2 separate regions of the Homo sapiens genome follow, and region 1 is linked to region 2. Evidence: promoter capture Hi-C in human tissues and cell types (Jung and others, 2019). All regions are on one chromosome and are shown on one strand. Each heading gives the region's core, a stretch centred on a gene start or on the middle of the fragment in contact. The rest is flanking DNA. Distances are from core to core; before and after follow the strand shown.

Evidence for each region. Contacts are between HindIII fragments. The study calls those that stand out against the background at their distance.
Region 1: a fragment that was not itself captured here is called in contact with the fragment with the promoter of TNPO3 in region 2 in 1 of the 25 tissues and cell types used here (lymphoblastoid cells).

What each region holds. Positions count from the first base shown.
Region 1 is chr7:128,446,018-128,453,278 of GRCh38, reverse strand. No RefSeq gene overlaps it. Among named protein-coding and RNA genes, the nearest start is that of HILPDA, 6.2 kb to the left of the region's middle. The HindIII fragment of the contact is 7,397 bases long and covers 387-7,261 here.
Region 2 is chr7:129,053,761-129,060,513 of GRCh38, reverse strand. It overlaps TNPO3 (transportin 3), which reads left to right and starts at 5,403. Exons shown (of 23, transcript NM_012470.4): 1 at 5,403-5,863. The coding sequence starts at 5,744. It also overlaps the pseudogene TPI1P2. RefSeq lists a silencer at 4,265-4,559 and enhancers at 4,265-4,559, 5,371-5,870. The HindIII fragment of the contact is 20,371 bases long and covers 1-6,753 here.

The DNA.
Region 1 (7,261 bases), core at 2,836-5,335, 610 kb after region 2:
CAGAGGTTGCACTGAGCTGCGATCAGACCATTGCACTCCAGCCTGGGCAACAAGAGGGAAACTCCATCTCAAAAAAAAAAAAAAGAAGAAAGAAAGAGTGGAAACAAAATAAGCATTCTTCAAGTAACTGATACGTGCTGAACATTTTGCTAAATGCATTACATGTATTATTTAATTTTTCTAACGATGCTATGAGGTAGGTATTATTGCCTCTCTTCTTTATTTGTTGTTGTTGTTGAGAAAGGGTCTCACTTTGTTTTCCAGGCTGGAGTACAGTGGCACGATCACTGCTCACTGCAGCCTTGACTTTCTGGGCTCAAGCTATCCTACCACCTCAGCCTCCTAAGTAGCTGGGACTACAGTTACACACCACCACACCCAGCTAATTCTTTCTTTTTTCTTTCTTTGCCACCACCACACCAGCTAATTCTTTTCTTTTCTTTTCCTTTTCTTTCCTTTCTTTCTTTCTTTCTTTTTCTTTCTTTCTTTCTCTTTCTTTCTTTCTTTCTTTTTCTTTCTTTCTCCCTTTCTTCCCTTTCTTTCCTTTCTTTTCTTGCTTTTCTTTCTTTTTTTTTTGTAGAGATGGGGTCTCTCTATGCTGCCCTGACTGGTCTCAAACTCCTGACCTCAAGTGATCCACGTGCCTCAGCCTCACAAAGTGCTGGGATTACAGGTGTGAGCCACCATACCCAGCCTTCTTTATTTGTTAACTATGCTTTTTCTTCCAGAGGAAGAAGAGACTTTCTTCACCTAGTCTTTTACTCATCTTTCATATCTCAATTCAAACATATTTCCTCTGGTCACCCTTGCTGACCCTCGGACCCTGTTCCGGGCTCCAGTGGCATGATAGGCATTTCTTTCCCAGTGTGTTACTTTACCCTTAGTTGTATTAATGTCTGTGTCCTTTCAAAAGCCTGAAAATGTCAGTGAAAGGAGTGTTTGGTCTGATTTTGTTTCCATTCCATCTCCAGCAGCTAGCACCAAATAGTAGGCTTTTGATAAATATTTGTTGACTGAAGGAATAAATGAATGAATATTTTACCCAGCATCTTCAGTGAGTACCCATTGTTTCATCAAGGAAATGTAGATAAGGGCGCCAAGAGAAGCCGTTTTCAGGTGCTACCTCCTCCTTGGAGCTGCAACCAAGGAAAGCTTTTTATAAGCTGCCCTTCCCCCAAAGCCCCTAAAAAGAAGTGATTCTGAAGTCAACCCACACAAGAGTACCATACTAAGAACACAAGTATTTTCACAAATTTGATCTTATCATCAAGTGTTCATTTAAATAACATGTACTTACATTTCTGGTAAGTATAAACTGGTACATTCAGTATGGAAATCAATTTGTCAGTAATTGTTACCCTGACCCCCACTTGTTTTTTAAACACCTCAAGACCATTGAGGTGTTAAAAAAGACCACTGACTACCATTTGGCAATGTCTATAAAAATAAAAGCATACACATGCCCTTTAGCCCAGAATTCCACTTTTAGGATTTATCCTTCCACATGTAGAGAATGGAGTGTTTAAAGGTAGCACTGTTGCAGCACTGTTTGTGATAATGAAAGACTGGAAAAAACAGCCCATCAGTAGAGAACTGGTTAAATAAAAGATGGTGCATTCAGACAGTGAATTACCATAAAGCCAGAAAAAAGAGAGTAAGTTCTGTATATATCGACAAGATCTCCACAATATATTGTTAAATGAAAAGGGTTTATAGTATGTGAGCAGTATGCTACATTTATGTTAAAATGAACATAAAAAATAGAATACAATGAGACACCACCTCACACTCACTAGGATGGCTATAACACAAACAAGCAAAAAAACCCAGAAAAGAACAAATGTTGATGAAAATGTAGAAAAAACAGAACCCTCATACATTGCTGTTAGAATGTAAAATAGTGCAGCTGCTTTAGAATAGTTCCTCAAAAAGTTAAACATAGAGTTACTGTATGATCCAGCAGTTTAGCTCCTAAATATATACCCAAGTGAACCGAAGATGTATGTTCACACACAAACGCTTATACACAAATGTTCATAGCAGCATTATTCATAATAGCCAAAAAAGTAGAAACAACCCAAATGTCCGTCAACTGGCTAAAGGATAAACAAAATGTGATACAATGGAATATTATTCAGCCATAAAAAATGAAGTATTGATACATGCTACAATATGGATGCACCTTGAACACATTATGCTAAGTGAAAGAAACCAGAAACAAAAGGGTACATATCGTATGATTCCATTTATATGAAATGTCAGAATAGGCAAATCCAGGGCTGGGCGTAGTGGCTCCCACCTGTAAGCCCAGCACTTTGAGGATCCCAGCACAGAGACCAAGGTGGGCAGATCACTGGAGGTCAGGAGTTTGAGACCAGCCTGGCCAACATGGTGAAACCCTGTCTCTACCAAAAAGACAAAATTAGCCAGGCATGGTGGTGCTGACCTGTAGTCCCACCTACCTGGGAGGCTGAGACAGGAAAATCGCTTGAACCCAGGAGGCAGAGGTTGCAGTGAGCCGAGATCACACCACTGCACTCCAGCCTGGGCAACAGAGCAAGACTGTCTCAAAAAAAAAAAAAAGGCAAATCCACAGAGACAGAAAGTAGGTAAGTGGTTGCCAAGGGCTGGAGGAGAGGGGACTGGGGAATGACTGCTAGTGGGTACAGGGTGGTTTTTTTTTTGGTGTGTGGGCTGGTGATGAAATGTTCTAAAATTAGTGCTGACAGTTATACAAGTCTATGAATGTACTTAACCATTGAATTGTATCCTTTAAAACGGTGGATTTTGATATGTGAACTATATCTGAATAAAGTCATTATTTTCTTTAAAGGAGGGCAAGTTGAAGACATCGTCAGATGACAAACAAAAACAGAGTTAGCTGCCGTAGGCCCTTACCGTGGAAACTACTGAAGAATGAACCTAAGACACAAGAAAACTGAACCCAAAAGGAAATAGGGAAATGCAAGAAAAAATGGTAAGGAAATATTTACAAAACATATGGATGTATCTAAACAAATTATGACTACTCAAAACTATTTTTAGTAATAATGGTTGATTTAGAAAAGTAAAAATAACAAGATAAACTGAAAAATTGGTAAACATTTCAGATGGGAACAGTGAGCAAAGATGAAGTTTAATATGTTTTTATTTGGGAGGAAAGTAAATATTGATTAATGTTAGACTTTTTTTTTTTTTTTGAGACAGAGTCTTGGTCTTGTCACCCAGGCTGGAGTGCAATGGTGCAATCTCGGTTCACTGCAACCTTCGCCTCCCAGGTTCAAGTGATTCTCCTGCCTCAGCCTCCCGAGTAGCTGGGATTACAGGCACCCACCACCATGCCCAGCTAATTTTTGTATTCTTAGTAGAGACATTTCACTATGTTGGCCAGGCTGGTCTCAAACTCCTGACCTCAAGTGATCCACCTGCCTCAGCCTCACAAAGTGCTGGGATTACAGGTGTAAGCCACCACACCCAGCCAATTTTAGACTTTTTAAGTCTGTATATTAAAATGTTAAGAGTTGGTTGGGCGCGGTGGCTCATGCCTATAATCCTGGAACTTTGGTAGGCCAAGGCAGGTGGATCAGTTGAGGTCAGGAATTCAAGACCAACCTTATTAAATAAATAAATATATTTATATTTATTATTTATTTTTATCTTTTTGAGACAGTCTCACTCTGTCACCCAGGCTGGAGTGCAGTGGTGCGATCTCAGCTCATTGCAACCTCCACCTCCCGGGTTCAAGCGATTCTCCTGCCTCAGCCTCCCGAGTAGCTGAACTACAGGTGCCAGCCACCACACCTAGCTAATTTTTGTACTTTTTTTTAGTAGAGATGGGGTTTCACCATGTTGGCCAGGCTGGTCTCGAACTCCTGACCTCAGGTGATCCACCTGCCTCAGCCTCCCAAAGTGCTGGGATTACAGGCATGAGCCACCGCACCCGCCAAAAAAAATTAAAATGTTAAGGGTAGCTCTTCCTCTTCCTTCTCTTCCTGTACAATTCAGTCTTCAGGCCATTAGGTAAAATAGTACAAGGTGTCTACAATGAAGAGGAGGGCCGGTGGCCCAGAGTGGAATGTCACTTTTATTCACTATTATGTCCTCAGTGTCTGAAACATGTTCACTCAATATTTGGCTCACTGTGTCACTTCCTTCTGGACCCTGATCAAATGTCATTTCTCAGGGAGGCTTTCCCAATCATTTCATGTACAGTAACACTCACCACCTACTCTTCTCCTTTACCCTGTTTTATTTTTTCTTCATAGTACTCAACACCAACAAACCTGTTTTATATTTATTTGTTGATTATCTATCTTCCTCCGCTAGAATGTAGCTCCTTGAGAACAAGGACTCGGACTATTGTGTCAATTATTATGTTCCTAAACCCAGAATAGTGCCTTCCATGTGGTATATGCTCAACAAATATTTGTCGAATGAACGAATCATGTTTATGTATCTGAGATATTTTATAACTGAAAGGAAACACACCAAGCATGGTGGCTGACGCCTGTAATATCAGCACTTTGGGAAGCTGATGTGGGAGCATTGCTTGAGCCCAAGAGTTCAAGACCAGCCTAGGCAACATGACAAGACCCCGTCTCTAAAAAAATTAATAATAATTATGACAGAGCAGCTGATCAATTTCTAATTCTATTTATTGATGTTTGTTGCACAGCATTTTTACAGTGATCATCTCTGGGTGATATAATGAACTCCTTTTTTCCTCCTATTTTCTCCCATGTGCATCTGTTACTTTTACGATCAGAGAAAAAAATTAAAATTTACTAACATTTTGTAAATTTACAGCTTGAGCAACATTGTGACAATGAAGGGAAAACAAACACAGGAGTTTGGATGGGGAAATTGGGTCAAAAGCTTGGAGCAGCTAGTGGGAGGCGGGAGTGGAGTGGGAGGGCCTGGCAGTATGGCACCAGAGGAAGGTGCCCACAGAGAGTTGGCCCTGGAAGTTGGGCAGAGGGCACCCAAGGCAAGCAGTGGCTTCTTCACCTCGCACCTGAGCCAGCAACCTAAATTCTGAGTCTGGTTGTGGTACTAACTAACCACTCACCTGGGGCCAGCCACTTCTTCAGGCCTCAGTTTCCTCATCTGTGAAGCTCAGGTCTGAGGGAGACAAGCTGTCTCTCTCAGAGCCTTTCTACCTAAGAGGTGTGTGGTCCTAGAACCTGCACTGAGAAGCTGTGGTGTGGGTGGGGGACTCCCACTGACACAGCAGGCCTCTGCTCTCAAGCTCTGTCTGCGAAATACTGGATGAACAGTGTAGAATAGGAGAAAAACAGTATTCAAAACTATATGGGCTCTCTAAGTTATCCATGATAAATGCATAGAGAGAGAGAGAGAGAGAGAGAGAGAGACTGACAGTGTATCTACTCTTAAATAGTAACATTTTTCACTGGGCAGGGTCCTCTTATTCATTAGTCACAATAAGCACAGTTCCTGGGGCCTATAGACTTTTCAGGGACTCTCAAACATATTTGAGATATAGAAAACAAAATATATTGGCTTCAAAAAATTTTAAATGACAGAACTAAAATTCATAAACATTTAATCAAAGGTCTGCAAAATATATGTTAACTAGACAGTTTCCTTCTTTTCTTTTCTTTTTTTTTTTTGAGATGGAGTTTCGCTCTGTCACCCAGGCTGGAGGGCAGTGGCATGATCTCGGCTCACTGCAACCTCTGCCTCCCAGGTTTAAGCAATTCTCCTGCCTCAGCCTCTTGAGTAGCTGGGATTACAGCTGCCTGTCACCACGTCTGGCTAATTTTTTTGTATTTTTAGTAGAGATGGGGTTTCTCCATGTTGGCCAGGCTGGTTTTGAACTCCTGGCCTCAAGTGATCCACCCACCTCAGCCTCCCAAAGTGCAAGGATTACAGGCATGAGCCACTGTGCCTGGCCAACTAGACAGTTTCAACTCAGCACAGTAACTTCAGATGTGAGATGTGGGTGCATTTTAACATGATGGGGCATCCCATAGCAGGCATATCTGAGGCCTGTGGAAGTAAAGTGAGGATGGGGTGGATTATGGAGGTTTTATAGTTTCTTGAGTTTCAATTTTTCTACTATGAGCATGTATTATAAGAAGAAGAAAAAGTATTGTGAATGTTTTGAAAAAGTCTGTAAATAAAACCTTAGGAAAGATTTGGGGTGAAGAAGTCCCTACTTTCTCATCTCAGTAAAGGCTTGGGGACAGTCCTCTGTCTTATGGAGGTAATTAGAATCAAAAAGGAAACTCACTGGAAACATGTATTTAAGAGTTTACTCATTCTATGCTGTTTTCCAAGTTATTTCCATCCAGCAGTTTAGGATAAATCTGTGTATTGACATGTTGCTCTCTCTTTCCTTCATGGAACCATAAAATCATTGAATGTTAGAACATAGCGGGAGCCTTCCTCCTTGCTGTCACCTTCTCTTGGTGGTCACAGTGGGCTCTATGAGCATGGGAGAGCCCAGGTTAGCTGCAAAAGGGCCAGGCCTCAAATGAGCTCCGTTGCTGCCTGGTAGATGGTCGAGGTGCTACCAGAGGAGATGGGTGTCTTGCTCCAGGCAGGGAGGCAGAGTCTGAGTCTCTGGGTTGGGAGACAACGGGGTTCTCCTGGTGTCTGTGCTGTTGTCATTCACAATGACAACAGCTGCTCTTCCCTCTGCTGCATGTGTTCACACACACATGCCCTACCTTTACACACGTGTGTGTGCACATGGGCACATTTTCTCTCTGCCTAGACAGCTGGCACCTCTCCCCCAGACACAGATGCCCAGACATTTCTGCTGCCAGCCAACTCACTCCGTGGCTCTGTTCCAACTCGGCTAGAGCAGGGCAGGGGGCTGTTCCTGCTGTCTCTTATCTTAGCCAAGAAGGACAGTGGCTGCTGTCAGGAGAGGGGGTAATGAGGGGTAGAGGACAACTGGTCTTTGAGGAGACTCCCACCGTTTTTTCCTTCTCCCAGTGATCCTTCCTCCTTTGGCTAAAGGACTGGAGAAAAAGCTGTCCAGTCAGAATCCCTCCTGTCAACGATGAAGGCCCAAAGCCCTACCCACACCGAACCCCTCAGCCCCTCGCCTGACAAATACTCAAAGTCAGCTAAAACTATTGGTGTCTCAGGCTCCCAGCTCTCCCATTTGACCCTGGAAACCTCCCCAGTCCCCCATCCTGGGTTCTTTTGCATGTTGGAGTATCGCTTGCTGATACGGCGTTCGATGTTTATACCTCTCAGTTGATAAGCATGTTCCGTCTAGAGAACGTCT
Region 2 (6,753 bases), core at 4,154-6,653:
AGACGGGATTTCGCCATGTTGGCCAGGCTGGTCTCAAACTCCGGACCTCAGGTGATCCACTCACCTCAGCCTCCCAAAGTGTTGGGATTACAGGTGTGAGCCACCTCGCCTGGCCAGATCAAAGCTTTTATGGAAGGCTTCATGGCATTGCCTGTAGAGAACTGGAGTGCTTGAGGTACAGCCCTCAATCTTTGGATAATCTCACCCCAAGTCAGTAAAAGAAACACTCATTATCTCTTTCCTTCTTTCCTTCAGAGAATCCATATTTAGCTTGCTTGCAGAAGGAAGGAGTCAGGGCTCTTTTTGTTGGGGGTGGGTTTGGTCTCATGAAACTTTGCATTAGAGTCCAGTTTTCCTAGGGTTACCATTGTGCCTAATGACAAAAGTTATGGGGTTTTGATATTTTAAATATTTTATATATTTCTAATATTTTATTTCAAATGTATTTTCTAACAATATTCGACATCTCTGGTGCATTTATTTGGTGCTTAAAGATGCGCGTCTCAATCACTCCTTTGTCTTTAGCCACCAACTAGAAACTGACAACTCGCAAATCTGGATTTTCAACCCACCCCCTGGGCTTCAGTCCCACACATGCTACAGCCTGCTGGTCTTGGCTGTCTGTTAAGTGCCTCAATATTCAACATGGCTAAGATTAAACTTATCTTCATCCTCATATCCCTTTCTGTTTCCATAAAAGCCATTTCTTCCTTTAGGTTCCATATCTCAAAAGCCTGGGTTTTCTTCCCTCTTGTCACACCTTGCAGCTTAAGTAATCACCATATCAAGATTCTTCCTCTGAAGTTCCTAAATACCTCTCTATCTCCATGCCCACCGCCAACACTTTACTCCAGGCTACCATCACTCCTCACCACGATTATTACAATCTTTTCTTATTTCTGTTCTAGCCACCTTCCCTGCCCAAGCCATTTCATGTCAAACTAGACTTTTTTTTTTTTTAAGACTAAGGAACAAAGAAACATGTCACTTAAGACATTTGCTAAGCACCCACTATGTATCAGGTAATGGCATGAGGTCACAAAGATGGGTTAAACACTGTTTAGCTTCATTTCTTACTCCTACCCAATGTCAACTCTATCCTTCAGCTACTTTCAGTCTTCAGAAGGTAATTTTTTCCCTTGCCTCCAGGCTTTCATACTGTTGCCTCTGCCTACAATACTAAACCCTTTGCCTAATTGCTTCCTATTTATCTATCAGTCTGGTCTCAGTTTAGACATAATTTCTCCAGATGGTGTTACCAATCTCTCTACTCTGGGTTAGGTATCACCTCTATTTTTTTTTCTTTTTTCTCCAACTGTTAGCTAAATATCCATGTGGTGTTTTAATAATTCCTAACCATAGAACTTTTAAAAATAAGTTTTATTGAAATATAGTTCACATTGCCATAAAACTCATCCTTTTAAAACATATAAAAAACATATGCCAGTGGTTTTTAATATATTCATGAGGTTTTTCTGAACATCGTCAATAATTCCAGAGCATTTATTTCCATCAATACAAAAAAAAACAAAACCCAAAACAAAAAACCAACCCTGGAAATGACCAATCTACTGTCTATATTTAGAATTTTGCCTACTCTGAACATTTTATGTAAATAGAATCGCGTAATTAATGTGCCTTTTGTGTCTGGCCACTTTCACTTAGCATAATTTTTCAAGTTTATCTATATTGTAGCATCTATCTGTACTTCATTCCTTTTAAGGGTCAAATAACCTTTCATTGTATGGATATAGCACACTTTGTTTATCCATGCATCAAATGACGGATATTGGGGCTGTTTCTGCCGTCTATTATGAATAATGCTGCTATGAATATGCACGTGCAAGTGCTTGTATGCACACACGTTATCATTTCTCTTGAGTATATACCTAAGTGTAGAACTGCTGGTTCATATGATAATTCTATGTTTAACATTTTTTTGAAGAGCTGCCAAACTTTTTCAACATGGCCGCACCATGATACAATCCCATGAATAGTGCATGAGAGTTCTGATTTGTCCACATTCTCACCAGCATTTATCATTTTTTAAATTTTAGTTTTTCTAGTGGGTGTGAAGTTGTATCTCATTGCAGTTTTGATTTGTATTTCCCTGAGGGCTAATGATGAGCATCTTTTCATGTGCATTTGTATATCTTCTTGGAAGAAATGTCTATTCAAATTCACTGCCCATTTAAAAAACTGAATTATCTGAGGCCAGACATGGTGGCTTACGCCTGTAATTCCAGCACTTTGAAAGGCTGAGGCGGGTGGATCACTTGAGGTCAGGAGTTCGAGACCAACCTGGCCAACGTGGTGAAGCCCTGTTTCTACTAAAAATACAAAAATCAGCCAGGCATGGTTGTGGGCACCTGTAATCCCAACTACGTGGGAGGATGAGGTACAAGAATCGCTTGAACCCAGGAGGTGGAGGTTTCAGTGAGCTGAGATTGTGCCATTGTACTCTAGCCTGGGCAACAGAGCAAGACTCCAACTCAAAACAAAAAAACAAAACACACACACACACACACACACACACAAAACAAACCCAAAAACTGAGTTGTCTTTTCATTGTTGAATTGTAAGAGTTCTTTATATACTCTGGATACTAATCAGTTATCAGATATGTTATTTGCACATTCCCTTCCATGTTGTGGACTGTTACTTCACTTTCTTGATAGTGTCCTTTGATACACACAAAAAAATTTGTTTTGAGATATGGTCTCACTGTTTCCCAGGCTGGAGTGCAGTGGCACAATCTCTGCTCACTGCAACCCCCACCTCCTGGGCTAAAGCAATACTCCCACCTCAGCCTCCTGAGTAGCTGGGATTAGAAGCACCCACCACCATGCCCTGCTAATTTTTTTGCATTTTTTTTTGTAGAGATGGAGTCTCATTTCATTACCCAGGATGGTCTTGAACTCCTGGCCTCAAAGGTAATCCTCTTGCCTCGGCCTCCCAAAATGCCGGGATTACACAGTTGTGAGCCACCAAGCCCAGCACTAAATTTTTTTTTAATGAATGAATGGATTAGGTAACCAAAATATCAAGTTTCTTTTTTCTGTCTAAAATTGTATCAACTCTGTGCAGTAACATTGTTTTCATCATGTTGTTGGCAGTTAAAAATTCCTTGACTAACAATTCAGAAGCAAACGAATGCACAAGATGATAGGGATTGTGTGATTTAACAGGTTTTGGAGCAACACTGATCTGGATTCAAATCCTAACTTTAAGAACTGTATCCTTGGGCAAATTACATTACTATTTTTCTTTCTTTAAAATGCGTTTTTTTGTTTGTTTTTTAAGTGCCAGGGGTTTATTTCCCTCACATGTGGGATGGCTCACATACACAACACACAAAGGCGTTGGCACCGTGGGAGAGGGCAGCACCCCTGGCTTCTGCTTGGCCTCACAGTGTAAGAAGGGAGAGGATGGGTTCTCTCTCCTCCCCTCACTAGGGCCTAGGGGACCCAGGAGCAAATTCCATCCCTTTCACCTCTCAGCCAAGGAGAAGCCACATTGGTGACATTTAGTTCCAACAATTACAGTAAGTGGAGAAGGGATTGGTCTGGTCCCGACCATTACACGGTGAAGGTATACATAGTAAAGGAAGATACAGTTTGGATGAGGCCACAATAGGGTGCAGATGACACCATCAGAAGCATGTGCAGGGGAGGGGCAGTCACTCAGCTTCTGGGCTGCTTAGTTCCTGGGTTGGCAGGAAGGGTAGGGAAGACGGATGGGGCTCATTGTTTGGCATTGATGATGTCTACGAATTCGGGCTTGAGGGAAACACCACTCATGAGGAAGGCAGCCACGTCAGGCTGGCTGGCCAGCTCCTTGCAGGTTGCCTTGGTCACAGAGCCTCCATAAATGATACCAGTGCTCTGAGCCACTGCATCAGAGATGTTGGACTTAAGCCATCCTCGGAGCTTCTTGTGTACCTCCTGGGCCTGTTGGGGTGTTGCAGTCTTGCCAGTACCAGTGGCCCACACGGGATCATAGGCCAAGATGACCTTGCTCCAGTCCTTCACATTATCTGCGATGACCTTTGTCTGCTCAAAAACAACCTTCTCAGTGATGCCAGCTTCCCTTTCATCTAGCTTCTCCCCAATGCAGGCGATTACTCCGAGTCTCTCTGCCAGAGCATGGGCCACTTTTCTGCCCAATCAGCTCATCTGACTCCCCAAAGACACGCCTTCTGAGTGCCCCAGGACCACACCACCCACGTGACTCCTAAGTCTTTGACCATGCCAGGGCTGATCTCCCCAGTAAAGGCCCCATTAGTCACTTTGTAGCAGTTCTGCGGAGCCACAGCAATCTTGGGAGCTAGCTTCTGCCGGGCCAACTCGTTATACGCAGTGGCGAGAGCACAAATCACCTTGGTGTCGGCAGGCACAGTGGCCGCGTTCTGAGTGCCGATGAGCTCCCCCAGACATTTCTTCCGCCCGTTCATCTTCCAGTTCCTCCCCACGAAGAACTTCCTGGAGGGCGCCATGGCGCTGGAGCTGAGGCGCTGTAGGTCAGTGTCAGCGCCTAAAACGGGTTTTATTAATACTTGGCAAGGTTGTTAGGCGGATTAAATGAGATCTTGTAACTACAGTGTTTTACACATTGTGATCATTTATCAAATAGCAGTTATTTACTAGTGCAAAGGACTAGCAGCAATGTTAATATCAATATACTGTTACCTTTTGTCCCTAATTTCTCCATAGTACAGTTTCCAATATTTCTGTTTTCTTTTGTGAATTGTTAGACCACTGGTATTGGATTCGGACAGAAAGGCATTCACAAAAATACAGTTCAATGTGAGAATAACCCTAAAGATGTATGCAAAATGCTCTGGAGTTAGAGCACCAGGAGCTGTAAGCAGAATGAAGACCTCTTTTGGGCTTAAGAACTAAGTAAAGGGGAGCTGAACAAAGATTCTAGGCATTTTGGATTTATCTCAATGTGGCACATATTTCAGGTTTGTAAAATAGTTCAGTTGACTACGTGTCTGTCTCCTCCACTAGAGCCAGCGTAGGTACCATGTCTTAAGTCATCTTTGGATCTCCAGTACTGTGGCCACTCTAGGGAGAGTTGAATTGACGCGCCTTGATCACCAGGGCAGAAAAGGATTCTCTGGAGAGGGATGGGGCAGTCGGAAGGGGTAGGAAAAACCTGGATCCGTTTCCAAGGAGCTGAAGGCAGCTCAGATATGGGGCACATCTCGGCGCTAATGTCCCAAGCTGCTAGCGAGGAACAGAGAGAACACCGGCTCTTCTTCCCGGCTCCTGGCCCGGCAGGGTTACTTCCGGGAGGGGGCGGGGAGACAAGAGGAGGCGTGCCGGGAAGGAGGCCGTTTGTAGTGTACCAGGCGGAAGTGTGCCAAAGGTATCGGTGCTGTCGCTTCCGGTCCGGGTAAACGAACCTTAGGTACACTGGTGTGTGGCCTCCCAAGATAGGCTTCTGAGGGCAAGTCAGCGACTGAAGACGGGAGCGCCAGAATCTGTGGACTCAAGAGTCTAGAATCAAGTGGAAAAACCGGAAAAAAGGCCAGGAACCTGAATACGACCTAATAGCTGTTTCCGAGGGGGCAACTTCCACGGAGAGCCTTCTGCCCTGGTAACGGCCAAAGAGGAGGAGATGGCGCCAGTCAGGGAGCGGCCGTGGCCCAGACAGTGAGGAAGCGCGAAGGCGGAGCAACCGAGGAATCCTCCGGAGAAGAATCAGAGCCGTCGCTACCGCCACTACCGCCACCACCATGGAAGGAGCAAAGCCGACATTGCAGCTCGTGTACCAGGCAGTGCAGGCGCTTTACCACGACCCAGATCCCAGCGGAAAGGAGCGCGCCTCTTTTTGGCTTGGGGAGCTGCAGCGTTCGGTGAGGGGCCCAGAGAGGCAGTTCTGTGCCGCACGGCCGGGGCGGGGTGGAACCTAGGCTCCGGGGGAGAACCTGAGCCCGGCAGTTGACCTCGTGAGGTCCTCCTTGGGGAGGAGCTGCTGTCGTGGGGTGGGGCTGCGAAGCTACATCTTTGCCGCTTTTGGGAAACTAGTCGCACCTGATCGGTCGCGAACTGGCCCTTTCCCCACCCGGCAGAATCTGATTTGTAGGTCTTATACTCTTCGATTGTGGCATCAATCTAATCTTGTTTAAGTTCTCCCTTTGCCGTTGCTTCTTGGGCCGTGCTTTTCCGTTTTGTCTTCCTCCCACCAAATCCAACCCCAGTGTTTCTCCACCTTCCGCTTAAGAAGGCTTTATTCGTCTCCCCTCCGTGTCCAAGACTTGCATCTGGCATTTTGCTCCCAGTCGTAGCCTTATGCCTCACTCTTTTTGCCTATTTTCACTCCAGTTTGAGTCTGTTCTTCTCGAAACTTCTCAGGTTTCTAGATTCTTACTCATGCGAGTTTTCCCCTTGCTTTGGAGTGGCAACATAATATGAAGAAAAAACAGTAATTCTGCTTTCAGAAAATCTTTGGAGTTCTCATTTTGTTTCATATTAATCCTCTAACCTTGTTATTTCTCTGGCTTTTAGATTTTTATTTATAAGATGGGTATCACTGCTGCTTTGATTATTCCATATAAAACTGTGTGTGCATCCGGTGAGATATTTAATTGTAGCTTATATCTGTTGTATTTCTGCATTCTTTGATTCATGTTTTATGCTTCCTGCCCTAATTTTCACACCTTTGCTGTGCTTCATTTCTGTGTAAATGTGTATTCTTGGTTATCTGGCTGACTTAGGTTCTAATGTAGGATGTACTTTAAAAATT